Linked DNA regions of Homo sapiens: regions 1, 3, 4 and 5 are each linked to region 2. The links are contacts of gene promoters, found by promoter capture Hi-C in blood cells and fetal thymus (Javierre and others, 2016). All regions are on one chromosome and are shown on one strand. Each heading gives the region's core, a stretch centred on a gene start or on the middle of the fragment in contact. The rest is flanking DNA. Distances are from core to core; before and after follow the strand shown. Region 1 overlaps LOC105374510 (a long non-coding RNA gene). Region 2 holds the start of FAM184B (family with sequence similarity 184 member B). Region 3 overlaps LOC105374510 (a long non-coding RNA gene). Region 4 overlaps LOC105374510 (a long non-coding RNA gene). Region 5 has its middle 340 kb from the start of LCORL.

Region 1 (2,700 bases), core at 121-2,620, 840 kb before region 2:
AGAAATCACTTCTTTCACAGACCCCACTAATCCAGGTTAAGTTCTCCTCTTTTCATATCACTAGAGTGGTGTCTACCTAATCTTTCTAGCTCTTTATCACAATATGGGGAATTTTTTTCAAAAAATAAATCTCTTCTACTAGATTGTTAACTCTTTTGGGGTAGGGACTATGTCTCTCTCATTCAGAGTTATAATCTAAATTTGTAACATAGTACCTGACATATAGTATCCACACATATGTGTTGAATTAATGAATACAATGAATATGTAGTAAATGAAGCAAAGCTTCTGTAAATGTCTGAATGACCCATGTTCTCTCAGGTGTTTTCATGTTTAATACATCATCTTGGAATGCACTCCCCTTTGATGTTTCTGGCCAACCATTCCCAGAGCAGCAGTCGTCCCCTCTAGAAAAGCTTCTCCATATCCCTCTCCACCTCCCAAAGCTATTTCTGTTGCCATACTTCATTCTTCCGACTTCTATAATGGATAGATTTTCTGTTCTCCTCCACCAGTTTATGAGCCCTTCCAGAACAATGTCCTGTTTGTCTTTGCAAACCAGCTCCTAACATTTAGTAGACAAAATACATTCTCATTTAATGCACTGTATGTAAATGATAGATGGATGATTATAACAAGCTATTTGAATATTTATCTGTAAATGTTACATTGACTCTGTTAGAAAATTGCCTTTTAACACAGTTTTTTAAATCACTTCTTAGACACTGGCCACATTACCAGTATATGATGCTATTCTTGTCTCAAAATCAAGGCACTGAAGTCTGCCATTTGGGACCTGTTGAGGGACCTGTGAAAATCAATTTCCTACAATAAATTGTCTTAAGCTAAAGGTCAACACACTTAAACTGAAACTCAAAGGTTTCTTTAAATTCACTGAAACAAGCCCTTTCATTTGGCATATGCTTCCCAAGACAAATTTTCTCTTCCAAAATTGGAAGAGGCCACATCTATGTTTTAACACTGATTTGTGAATATTCCCTGGAATAATTTATATCTTTTTAGTTTTGTTTGTTTGTTTTGTTTTGTTTTTTTTTTTTTGAAACAGAGTTTTGTTCTTGTTGCCCAGGCTGGAGTGCAATGGCATGATTTCGGCTCACTGCAAGCTCTGCTTCCTGGCTTCAGGTGATTCTCCTGCCTCAGCAAGTAGCTGGGATTACAAGAGCGTGCCGCCACGCCCAGCTAATTTTTGTTGTTAGTAGAGACAGGGCTTTGCCATGTTGGCCATGCTCGTCTTGAACTCCTGACCTCAGGTGATCTGCCAGCCTCTGCCTTACAAAGTGCTGAGATTACAGGCATGAGCCATCGTGCCTGGCCCCTTTTAATGTTATGGTTTATGAACTTATTAAAGTGCAAAGATTTTATGATCTTTCTAACTGTAGAATAGCATAGCTTGTTTATTAAACTGCAGAGTCACTGTAGAGGTCCTGATTCTTTGATTTAGCTTACTATAAAGTAGGAATAAATAAACCAATCAATAAGTAAATTTAAGTATCTTTAACTTTGCTGATTGTGACCACTCATCTATGGGATTTGGCCCACGTGAAGCAGATCACAGAATGTGGTTGCTTCTACTGTTTTCCATAGGAAATCCAGTCATGTTCATAACCCTATACTACTTATTAGATCTGTTCTGTGAAGATTACATGGTGGTTCTAAGACCCTGGAAAGATCAGCTTTTGGATAATAGAAAGTAATTATTGCAGCTTCTAGTTATGCTTTCCACTTTGGAAAGTCACTGCTCACAACAACAGAAAAAAGAGAAGAGGTTTAACACCAACATTTAAATGCTCTGGCCCAGAGGCAACATGTCACGTTTGCCCAATATCATAAGCTGGAAATACTCATATAACAACACCTAACCCCAAAGTAACACAGAAATCCTCAAACATACCTAGAAGTAGAGGGGAACCAGATATCAGAAAAGAACAATGATGTCTGCAACTCTAATCTTCACCAAGTGAACAAATAAATTGAAAAAAATTTCCTTCAAAGACATCATTGATTGAAGAAAATACTGCAAATGCAAGCGCAAAATGTGAACACGAATAAGAAAAAAGTCAAAGTTGATTTTCTTCCTCCTATTCCTACTATTAGTAAAATAAACAATAAGCTCATAAAATCAAATGTAAAGTCAGATATCCAATTAATGACATTATTAAGAATACTTTGATATCTGTGGTCATTAAAAATGATCCTTGCCCTGCATGTATATTTGCCAATGATAGTAGTACATGTACTTGATTTACAAATTAATATCTACACCTAGGTAGATAACTAAATTATAAGCCTACATTAAAAGCTTTCTCTCTCTCTCTCCATCCCTCCCTTCCTTTCTCTCCCTCTGTGTACATATCTATGTATATATAGATAATGCAAATAATGTAAAATAAATATGTGTGTGAATAAGTGTTATAGCGATCTGAAACTTGGACCTGTTAAGAACACTATTTCTGAGAAACTATTTTACATGGAAACCTCAGAAATGTGCTGAGTTACTGTAGACCAGTCATTTACGTCCAATGATAAGATAGCAATGTATTCAGAATATGTGGAACATTTAGAGAAGGGTGAATAGATATGGTGCGGAATAGGAGGTCATGGGAATGACAAAAGCAAATGTCTCATACCCAGTTGAATTTACCTTTTGATTTGGTATTTTCATCAGCCACTATATGTCTG
Region 2 (2,700 bases), core at 194-2,693:
CAAAATGGTCAACAACTTTTAGTAAAGTTCTTGACCAAAAAGGCTAATTTTCCTCTAGTTTACACAGTGGTTGAATTCCTGTAAAATTTAGTATATATTAAGATCCTGCAGAAAATATTCTAAATACACAATTTGGAATTAAGCAGAGAGCTGTTTAATGTGGATTCCTGACCCCCTGACCCCCATCCTCAGAGGCTTTGTCTCTGTTTTCTAAAGGAACTGGGGGAGGGAGGGGTTGTGCTAAAAAGAGAACTTAAGATGGTAAATTAGAAATCAAAAACCGAGGCCGGTCATTTGATACAGAATCTAGAATAGGAATGTCTATTTCAGAAACAGTTCTACTTGTAATTGCCTGACTTGGTACAAATTTTCTGGGTCAATTTTCCTCATCGACAAAAATGGGTTTTGTTACCTTCAGTATGGATGGGTGGAACTGTGGTTTCTGAGACCCTTTGAAGCTTGCTTGGTTTATGAAGATTATTAAAATTTCTGATAAAAGGCAATGTATAAATGATATACATTCACTATGCAAACTATCATGAAGACCTATTATTCGAGCTTTAGGAAAAGCTGATCACGGTGCTGTCACTTTCCCTTAAAGTCCACTGTCTGAAACCAGAGAACACGCCAGAAAGAAATTTGGCCCGCTAACCTCTCCCCTCACCAAACACTAAACAGACACCAGCTCAGAATCCGAAAACTTGACAGTCTGGCTCCAGTCTGCCCAAGGCCAGTAGTGTGGATTTGGACGACTCACTTTACTTTCAATGGGCTCGGTTTGCTAAGATTTTCAGTTCCATCTTTTACTCATCTAACTGCTCCATTCCTCTTTGCTTCTTCCTTTCCCGCACCTGCCACCATCCTTTCTACCTCCCTAACGACTTTGTCTTTGCGTTCCTACCGCTTCCCGCATTACCCGTTTCGCACTTTCTCATCTCAGATTTCGGTCACCCGCACCCTGCCATCCCCTTGGCTTCTCCTCTTTGGGCATCTCCGGTATTCCTCCCGCAATGTCCTGGCTCCTCTCCAAGATCCAAAAAGGAAGGCTACCATCCCCAGCCCCGCTGTGCACTCGCGCAACTCAGGCGCTGGCCCACACCGTGCGCCCCGGATCCCACACCTCCTTGAGTCCCGATGGCTCGCCCTCACCTACCCGCCCCTCTCTTAGCATCTCGTCCCCCACCGCCATCTCCGCTATCAGCTCGGAGACTCGGGAGCCGCCAGTCACTGTGCCCTGTCCCTCTCCGGAGGCCGCCAGTCACTGTGCCCTGTCCCTCTCCGGAGGCTCTTCTTCCTCTTTAGCCTGGGATCCCCACCTCGGGCAGGGTCCGTCGCCACCAAGTCCAGGGCCGCGCGCCACCCACGTGTCCAAGAGCGCAGTGCCCGCCCACCGCAAACCCCCCAAGGCCGGCAGCTCCTAGCCGCGGAAGCTCTCCCCTTGCACACGAAACCTGCACTGGCTGGGGAACTGCAGACTGATCGCCAGCGGCACGTGCGGGGCGCCGACGCCTCGCCGCAGGGTGCGGGTGCCCGCGGAGCCAGCCAGCCAGAGAACCAGCAGGAGAGGAAAAAGGGTGGGCGCGCGGGTGGGCCCGGGAGGCGGAGACCTTCGGGAAGCTGGGGCCACGCGGCGGTGCAGGCGACGGGACTGCAGTGCCACCTCTCCCGAGAAACCCACACGCTCGCACGCCCGCGCGCGCACGCACGTGCACACGGTGGGCAGGGAGAAAACGAGAGAGTCTGAGTGCTGGGCGCGTTTTAGCGATGGCTTCTGCTCTCAACAGCAAAATTAACCCGCCCGGCACTTGCCAGGGCTCCAAAGCCGACGGTGGCGCCGGCTGGAGAATGGACTGTGATCCCCAGATGCACGTGAAAATGTGCAAGAAGATCGCCCAGCTCACCAAGGTAAGGTGGGGCGCAGCGGGCCAGCGAGCTGCACGCCCGGGGCGCCCGAGCCGGGAGTCAGTGCGGATGCGCCTCCCGGGAGGCCCGGGCCAAATCCAGACAGAAACTTTGTCTCGGAGGCCAACCGGGAAGGGAAGCGGTCCTAAATCTGGGTGACTTGACCTTCTAGAGGCACCATCCTAAAGCAGCAGAGAAAGAGGATCCTTGCCAAGGAAACTCCCACAGCCTGCTGGCTGGGCAGGTGGTCTGTGCTTTTCCAAGGTGGGAATGTGAATCGTGTGTGTGTGTGTGTCCCCGCCAGCTTTGCTCAAGTGCCTAGAATGTTGTGATTTCATTCAACTGCCATACTTTACAGCTGGGGAGGTCATGTGGGCTCTATTTAAACACTTGATCCATTTATTCCTTCATTCAACAAATATTTGCGTCATTTGTTGAGTGCCAGCAGCTTGCGTGGCACCGTACTAAACCTGGAATGCAGCCTAGGGGACTTACTATCAAACTGGGTGCAGACGTGTGTAGGAGCATAAATGGGGAAGAGCACGATTCACCAAATAACTATGGGATTAGGAAGGACCTAGGGAAGTCAGCCAGCCCACCTCCTTACCTCGTGCAGGGGGCTCTGATTGAACCTTCCCAGACTATGTCTTTTTCAAGAAGACCAGCAAAAAGATGCCACCAGTGCTCTTTGTTAACCCTCTGCAGCTCCCCAATTAGAAGCTCCTTGTCACAGACTCCCCTCTGTGCCTTGTCTAGATGGAAAACAACATCCCTCACTGTCTCCTATACAAGGTTTCA
Region 3 (2,700 bases), core at 170-2,669, 810 kb before region 2:
ATTTTAAAAAAGCAATTTTTCAGCAAACAATCAACATAATATCTTAGTTAAAAATGGTTGGGAGGCCGAGGTGGGCGGATCACAAGGTCAAGAGATCGAGACCATCCTGGCCAACATGGTGAAACCCCGTCTCTACTAAAAATACAAAAATTAGCTGGGCGTGGTGGCGTGTGCCTGTAGTCCCAGCTGTTCGGGAGGCTGAGGCAGGAGAATGGCTTGAACCCAGGAGGTGGAGGTTGCAGGGAGCCGAGATCGCACCACTGCACTCCTGCTTGGCGACAGAGCGAGACTCCATCTCAAAAGAAAAAAAAAAAGGTAATATTCACAGCATTTCTTCAGAACAATAAACTATGGACCAAGGAAATGAAAAAACTTGTTTCAGATCATACCCCTAAAAAGTGGCAGCATTCAAATAGCAGCACTTTGGTTAGCAAATCCCACTTTTCTCCCCGAAATTTTATGACACCATTACATCTAGAGTTGCGATGCATATATTACTGTATCTCCCTTACCTTATGAAATAGGGAAGCATGGAGATTCTCATCCTTATTTCCTAGAACAGAAACTTCAAAGTACCAATGATTTAAAGTTACAGTCACGCTAATGGGAGGATTAGCAGTTAGCACCCAATCAAGTACACTCAGCCCCTTTATGTGAGACAACCGTTTACCTAAACAATCACGATAGTTTGTGACTATCGTGAAACAATCCCAGTCGAAGAAGCGCAATGCTTCTGTCCCATTAATGTTAAGGAAAATCCTCTTCGACTGAAGGATTTGGGCGAGGTTTTCTCAGTTTGACCACATGGTGGCAGTATTACCATGCATTGAAAGACTTCCAGCCCCAGCAGTTCAGAATAAGAGTGCGCTGCCAATTGGCTCAGAAAAACATCCTTTTGTGTCCTCTTTGACTTCGAGATGTGCAAAAAAAGATAGCAAGCTGTGTGGTCTCTGAATAGAGAGCTCTGTTTCTTCTTTCCAGCTTACTAGAAGGATATGGGTGCCGAGTGAGAGGCAATACTACAGCAGCCTAATGAGCCAATTATTTTGTTTGGCACAAATATCACTAGGGACTTAGAGAAAGGTGCTTTCATACAAGAAGGAAAGCAAAACACAACTAACAACTACAATTTCAGGCAAATCATGGACTTAAAACGTGTCCCTGAGTTTAAGTTTTATTATCTTGTCTCTTTATGTGACTTTCCAACAAGGAGCAAAGAAATATTTGGTTTGGCATTTTTCATTTTTATTGGTGACTTCTTCAAATTGACACAAGTTGTATTTGTCTAGCAATAAATCCACAGTGCAGCCTGCTTGCCAATCTATGCATTCAAAATATTTCATCTTGATTATATATATCAGGTGCACCAAAGGGACTATCTCATTTAATCTTAAAGTAATTGTGTATAATAGGTGTCATTATTTTCATTTTACACAGGAAGAAAGTAAAGTAAAAAAAAAAATAAACTAACTTCAGCTCCCAAAGACAGTAAATACACAGAATCTGAACAATCTAATGCATAAACCCACAATTTTCCTCCCCATCACACTCATTTTACATTCAAAATAATTTCTCTCCCATTAAAAATTATTTTTTTATTATTCAAATGTATTTTTAAATTTTTAAGTAGAGAAGTTTCAAGAAAGAAACAAAAAATCATGCAGGCTTTTTTTTTTTTTTTTTTTTTTGACTGAGTCTCATTCTATCGCCCAGGCTGCAGTGCGGCGGCATGATCTCGGCTCACTGCAACCTCTGCCTTCCAGGCTCAAGGAGCTCAAGCAAATTCTCATGCCTCAGACTCTCAGACAGCTGGGATTTCAAGTGTGTGCCACCATACCCCGCTAATTTTTTGTATTTTTAGTAGAGACAGGGCTTCACAATGTTGCCCAGGCTAGTCTCAAACTCCTGAGCTGTGGCAATCCACCCACCTTGGCTTCCGAAAGTGCTGGGATTACAGGCATGAACCACTGCACCTAGCCCGTTTTTTCTTCTCTCTCTCTCTCTTTTTAACATAGATTCCATAGCAAGGATGTATTGTAATTAATTTGACAGATCCTAACGGTTTATTTCCTCTCTGTATGATCTTAACTAAGAAAATGTATGGTTAGTTTTCTTTTAATTTAAAAATGACATCATAGCACCACACCAACAGACTAAATATGGTTAAAGAGTGGTTGGACCAGAAAGAAACTAATACAATAAAAAGAAATACTGTTTTTATGGTTTTGAAAACTATCACATAACCGCACTGCCGATCACCTTAAGGCTGCAGCAAGGAGCACTTAGGGGGCCAGGGACAGAGCCCAGCTGAGATTAGAAGGGAAATCATCTTTCCCCTGGGTGTTCAAATCCTCCTTCACAGGAGGTGCTCTCTGGCAGGCATTTACCTAAGATAAATGATCCACATGCTCTAGGCTCATGGTCATAGGTTCATCTACACACTTGTTTCCACTAGCAACTTGTCCCTGATTTTCCATTCGTGATCCTTTCATTATTCCACCCAAACCATTTGCCACTGCCCAGAAGTGTGTGCACGGGTGTGTGTATGTGTGCATATGCCTGCATCTTAGCAGGCAACATCTCCCACCACACCAAGCTCATGACCAGGTGTTTAAAACTCTGCCCAGCCAAAGTATTCTATTTCATCATTGTCCTTTAATGGTGCTATAATAGAACAATAGTGCATTTTCAGCTAGCACC
Region 4 (2,700 bases), core at 136-2,635, 790 kb before region 2:
TAAAACTGAGAAGAGAAGCTCTGTGTTCACTATTGCCTCATTTCCTGCCAATGCACAATTCTATGTTAAATAATGATACTTTGAAAGTGAAGTCCAACCTGTCCTGTTTCAGAAGAGTAAAGGCTTTGATAGATCATAGTCAGTGTAATATCTCTCATTAAATAAGAGAATGTAAATGACATCTCTGAAATCAAGCCACTAGCTTTAAAGCACTATGCAAATATAAGGAATTATTATCATTAGCTAGTCTGGTGATTTCAACTAACTAATCCCACCTAATACCAGCATTTTATTTGGAGTACTCTGTAATTAACTTCAGATTCTCATCCCGCTTTTATTCAGCAAAGCTTTACTGAGTACCATTTTTTATCACATACTTTCAGGCAGATAGGAGTCATGATGCCGAATAAAACAAACAGTGCCAGATATGGGTGGCTTTTCATACAGATGGCATAACTAGACACCTACATGCACTCAAAGGGACTCAAATGCTACGTTTCTTTTACTCCAAACCATCTCACTATCATTACTCTCTGTGCCTGAAACTCCCAAAGGAGGAGAGCTAACTCTTAGTGCCTACAATATGCCATACACTAAACCATGTGGTTTAACTGTATTTGTTATAATCAGGTAACTTTCAGAGGCAACTATCCTCCATGCAGTATTTAGTGCTCAGGATACTTTCATCTTGTGACTTCGCCGTCTCCAAACAAGCCCTCCTTCAGGCTGCCAATAGGGAAGAGAGATTGAAGAATTTGGCAATGACTTTTTACTGCCTTAGGCTGGAAACGATCTGTGTCACTTCTGCTCATAGCCCTTTGTCTGAAATCATTAAAATGGCCTGGACAAACTCTAAAGGGGCTGAGAATTCTGGTCTTCTGTGCTCAAAAGAACATGGCAAACTAATAACGTCTACAACCACATCCACAATTTTCTTCCTACAAAAGATGATGCAGTCTTAGAAAGTACAGGTAACCTTTCCAAGGTGATTCAGCAGAGCGTGGTTTAGAACTGCAGTCTGCTTGGTTTCAAAACACAGGCTTTATTTCATTTTCCACCACAACAACCTACCACTTGGTGGAACCATTCCTCTAGGAATTGCTTACTAAGATATTCATTTTCAAGTGGCATGTACTAAAAAGTACGTTCTGAATGCCTTACCCCAATCTGATCCTAAGGCAATGAGCTCTCTCCCATATGTGAACAACTCTCACAGAGACTTTACCTGTCTTGAGTCTTTTTGCATCCTCTACCATCTGAAAATTCTGTATGTGGCTCTAAAACTCTATTTACAGAAAGCTGTTACTTAAGAAGCCACTTTTTCATCCTCCCTTTATCCAGTCTCTGCTTTCAGGAAAGACTACAACATCCATGCTGTGTCATTACAGTCAAGGAAAGTCAACATATTCTATTTTCCATCCATCCCCTATTCCTTCATCAGACACCACTAAGTGGTTACCTGAAGGAGGAAAGCAGTGTCTGAGAAGAAGGGAGAATGTTTGGGGCCAGTGTTTAATGTCTTCCCTGAAAACCCCATGACACCATAGATCTGACTTGATATTTTTCTTTCTACTGATTTTGTATGGCTGACTTAAGAAAGCAAACAACGATAACAACAAAAATACTAGTACAAAAGCATAGGAATACAATTAAGCAAAACTTGAAAACTGAGTTGGCAGAGTAGCAGCCTGCTAACTTTTCATCATTGCCAAAAGATGAATGGCAATGCCTGTTCTCACAAAATTTTTAGGAGAAGATAAACAATGTGAAAAAAGTACAGCTCAAGAAAGAAGCTGTCAAATACCTTTGCATGTCCAGAGGAAAAAGAGACCATGTCCTGCTAAGGTAATCAGTGAAGGCTTCATGGGGGAATTGGCATTTGATAATAATAACAACACTAATGATAAAATGGAAATAAAGCCAAAATAACATGAATAGACCTAATTATACCAGGAATTTTCCCAAACACTTTATATATTCATAACTCTTTTATATATTTGTTAACTCATTTAGTCGTTAGGATAATTCTAGCAGATATTTATTTACTCATTCAATACATATTTACTGAGTTCCTGCTCTGTGCAGGTAGTCTATGAGCTGAGGTTATGGCAAAGAGCAAGATAGAAAATGTCGTTACTCCCTTGCCACTGTCTACTGAGAGCTACCAGTATAATTTTTATTTTACACAAAACTGAGGTATGAAGGAGTTAAGTATACTACTAAAGGTCACACACACTTTCAGTGTCCAAGTCAGGATTGGATTGCAGCCAGTAAGGCACAGAGCATGTTTATCTACTACATTTTTCCAACAGTGACTAAGTGGGGTAATAGTGATAACAACGGCAGACAGACAGATTCCTAGGCAGATAGGGATGGATCCCTAGTGAAAGTTGACCTTCAGGCCAAGGATAGTCTAAAGCTTGAAAACAGAGCTACCAGTTACAGATAGAATCCACGAACTACAGTGAGAACTTTCATCCCTGTTTTGTCCGCTCTCGTTTGATTGGTTCTTTCTGAATGATGCCTTTTAACCAATCAAATGATGCCTTTTCCAAGCCTACCCATAAATTCTCCATTCTAAGCCCATAAAAATCCCAGACTCAGCCTCATAGATGGCTATCCACTTTTGGGTCCCTTCTCACTGTCAAGGGCTTTTCTTTGGCTCCATAAATTCTACTCTGTCTTACCCCCTCTCCAGTG
Region 5 (2,700 bases), core at 127-2,626, 580 kb before region 2:
TATCATCTGTATTAGACCGTTTCACACTGCTGGTAAAGATATACTGGAGACCGGGCCATTTACAAAAGAGGTTTAATGGACTCACAGTTCCACATGGCTGGGGAGACCTCACAATCATGTGAAGGGCAAATCTCATATGGTGGCAGACAAGAGAAGAGAACTTGTGCCGGGAAGCTCCCCTTTATAAAACCATCAGATTTCATGAGACTTATTCGCTATCATGAGAACAGCACAGGAAAGACCTGCCACCATGATTCAATTACCTCCCACTGGGTCCCTCCCATGACACGTGGGAATCGTAGGAGCCACAGTTCAAGATGAGATTTGGGTAGGGACACAGCCAAACCATATCACCATCCATCCAGCAATCATGCTTCTAAATATTTACCCAAATAAGTTGAAAGACTATGTCTGCACAAAAATTTGCACAAGATGTCTTTTAAAGGTGAATAAATAAACAAACTATGGTAGACCCATACAATGGAATATTATTCAGTGATAGAAAGAAATGAGCTTTCAAGTCACAAGAAGACAAGGATGAACCTTATATGTATAATGCTAAGTAAAAAAAAAAGCCAATGGGGAAAGACTACATACTGTATGATTCCAATTCTATGACATGCTGGAAAAAGCAAAGCTATAGAGGTGGTAAAAAGGTCAGATTTCAGAGAGAAGATGGGAAAGGTAAGGGTTGTGTAGGTGAAGCATGAAAGATGGGATCTTTTTTAGGGCAGTGGAACTATTCTGAATGACACTGTGATGACGGATACATTATACTCTTGTGTCAAAAATCCATTGAATTTCAAAACACAGTGAACATCAATAATTGTAATTTTTAACTAAATATTTTGGAATCCAAGAATGGAATCTGGAATTTAGGAAAACATTATGACAGTACTACAAGTGTACAAAACAACTTCGCTGAAGGACATGAAAGAATAAAGGTGGTAATCTAAACAACTTTAGAAATGTGTGAAGTCTGTAAGAGCAAAGGCAAAAGAAATTATATCTAGGTATTGTAGTCTAATGAATAAAGTTGTTTACCACAGAGGTATTGACTTACAATTCTTATACAATTATAAATGTAAACAGAAATTAAACAATTAGGTAGATGGATGGAAGATAGTGGGAGCCACTTCATACTGTTGGAGTTAGAGGTTACAAATTAGCAAGAGACAGTCTAGAGTAATCTGTGTGCTTACATTTTAGGGCTGGAGACATCGGTAACAACTCTGTTTAGCTTAACACAAATAGTTCCACATAGAAATATTTATAGATATAAGAGTATAGACTGGTTCTTATGTATGAATATATCCTTAGTCTGTCAGCTGATAGGGCCTAAAGTGACAACACCCCAGTAGCAATGAACAAGCCTAGTACCTAGATCTTGGGGTTAGTATCATTCTTCAGCACTTCTTTTTGTAGAAATGCCTGATTCTAGGACTGGGAAAGGAAATACAGAAAATGAGACTGGAGCATCCTGTAGTGCCAGAAAGTAAGGAAATGCTCAAATTTTAATTAGTTAATTATGAGAATATGTCAAAAGGGCACAAAAGTCACTTGAAAGAGTTCCTAATGGCCAAAACTGGAAAAGTTTGTATAACAAAATAAATTAAGTAATAGATGAAATCTGCTATGGCTTCAATGTTTGTCATTTCCAAAAGTCATGATGAAATTTTGTTGCCATTGTAACAGTATTAAAAAATGGGATCTTTAAAAGGCGATTAACCAATGAGGGCACCACCCTCGTGGATAGGATTGATGTTGTTATGAAAGGGTGTTTGCATCCCTTTTTCCCCCTCTCTCTTGCCCTCTCTTGCTGTTCTACCATGTGATGACACAGTGAGAAGGCCCTCACCAGATGCTAGCACCTTGATATTGGACTTCCCAGCCTCCAGAATTGTGAGTCAATAAATTTCTGTTAATCATAAATTACCCAGTCTTGGGCATTCTATAATAGCAGTACAAAGCAAACTAAGATATAGCTCAAAGTATAAAATAAATATTGATAGGCCAGACGCAGTGGCTCATACCTGTAATCCCACCGCTTTGGGAGGCCGAGGTGGGCAGATCATGAAGTCAGGAGTTCGAGACCAGACTGACCAACAGCGTGAAACCCCGTCTCTACTAAAAATAAAAAAATTAGCTGGGTATGGTGGTGCGCACCTGTAATCCCAGCTACTCAGGAGGCGGAGGCAGAAGAATCGCTTGAACCCAGGAGACAGAGGTTGCAGTGAGCCAAGATCGCGCCATTGCACTCCAGCCTGGGTGACAGAGTGAGACTCCATCTCAAGAAAATTAATTAATTAATTAATTAAATATTGATGAATCAATACAAATACAAATAAATTTTTGAATGACTAAATAGATTTGGAGAAGACAAAATCTCCCATGTGGAATTCTGAATAATTTATGTAGATACTCTCTCCTTCAGGAAACAAAACAGTTCCCCATTCCTTCAGTGTAGGCTCCATGTGTTGATATATTTTCAAAGAACACAATATGAAAAACAGAAGGAAGAAAAGTTACTTTACAATGAAGAAACCTAACAAAAAATACTCAACCAGGTGATAAAAGTTAACATCAAAAATAGTCACATTTATAGTAAGTACTCTTGATACGACATGATAAAAATGTCCCTTTACCACTGTGGTATTCTTCCTCAAAACACACAACCCCGGTCTAACAATGAGAAAAACA

What was found. The method cuts DNA at HindIII sites, captures the fragments that hold promoters and counts their contacts. A CHiCAGO score of 5 or more calls a contact.
Region 1: a contact is called between a fragment that was not itself captured here and the fragment with the promoter of FAM184B in region 2, in 1 of 17 cell types (naive B cells). The highest score is 5.7, in naive B cells.
Region 3: a fragment that was not itself captured here is called in contact with the fragment with the promoter of FAM184B in region 2 in 8 of 17 cell types (total B cells, endothelial precursors, naive CD8 T cells and 5 more); the score reaches 12.5 in total B cells.
Region 4: a fragment that was not itself captured here is called in contact with the fragment with the promoter of FAM184B in region 2 in 2 of 17 cell types (endothelial precursors and total B cells); the score reaches 7.1 in endothelial precursors.
Region 5: a fragment that was not itself captured here is called in contact with the fragment with the promoter of FAM184B in region 2 in 1 of 17 cell types (M0 macrophages); the score reaches 5.7 in M0 macrophages.

What each region holds. Positions count from the first base shown.
Region 1 is chr4:18,615,402-18,618,101 of GRCh38, reverse strand. All of the region lies in intron 1 of LOC105374510 (a long non-coding RNA gene), which reads right to left. Among named protein-coding and RNA genes, the nearest start is that of LCORL, 590 kb to the right of the region's middle. The HindIII fragment of the contact is 1,904 bases long and covers 419-2,322 here.
Region 2 is chr4:17,780,364-17,783,063 of GRCh38, reverse strand. FAM184B (family with sequence similarity 184 member B) reads left to right here and starts at 1,443. Exons shown (of 18, transcript NM_015688.2): 1 at 1,443-1,905. The coding sequence starts at 1,765. The HindIII fragment of the contact is 8,098 bases long and covers 461-2,700 here.
Region 3 is chr4:18,591,843-18,594,542 of GRCh38, reverse strand. The region is part of intron 1 of LOC105374510 (a long non-coding RNA gene); the gene reads right to left. Among named protein-coding and RNA genes, the nearest start is that of LCORL, 570 kb to the right of the region's middle. The HindIII fragment of the contact is 4,680 bases long and covers 1-2,700 here.
Region 4 is chr4:18,567,212-18,569,911 of GRCh38, reverse strand. All of the region lies in intron 1 of LOC105374510 (a long non-coding RNA gene), which reads right to left. Among named protein-coding and RNA genes, the nearest start is that of LCORL, 550 kb to the right of the region's middle. The HindIII fragment of the contact is 2,072 bases long and covers 350-2,421 here.
Region 5 is chr4:18,361,009-18,363,708 of GRCh38, reverse strand. No RefSeq gene overlaps it. Among named protein-coding and RNA genes, the nearest start is that of LCORL, 340 kb to the right of the region's middle. The HindIII fragment of the contact is 3,222 bases long and covers 1-2,700 here.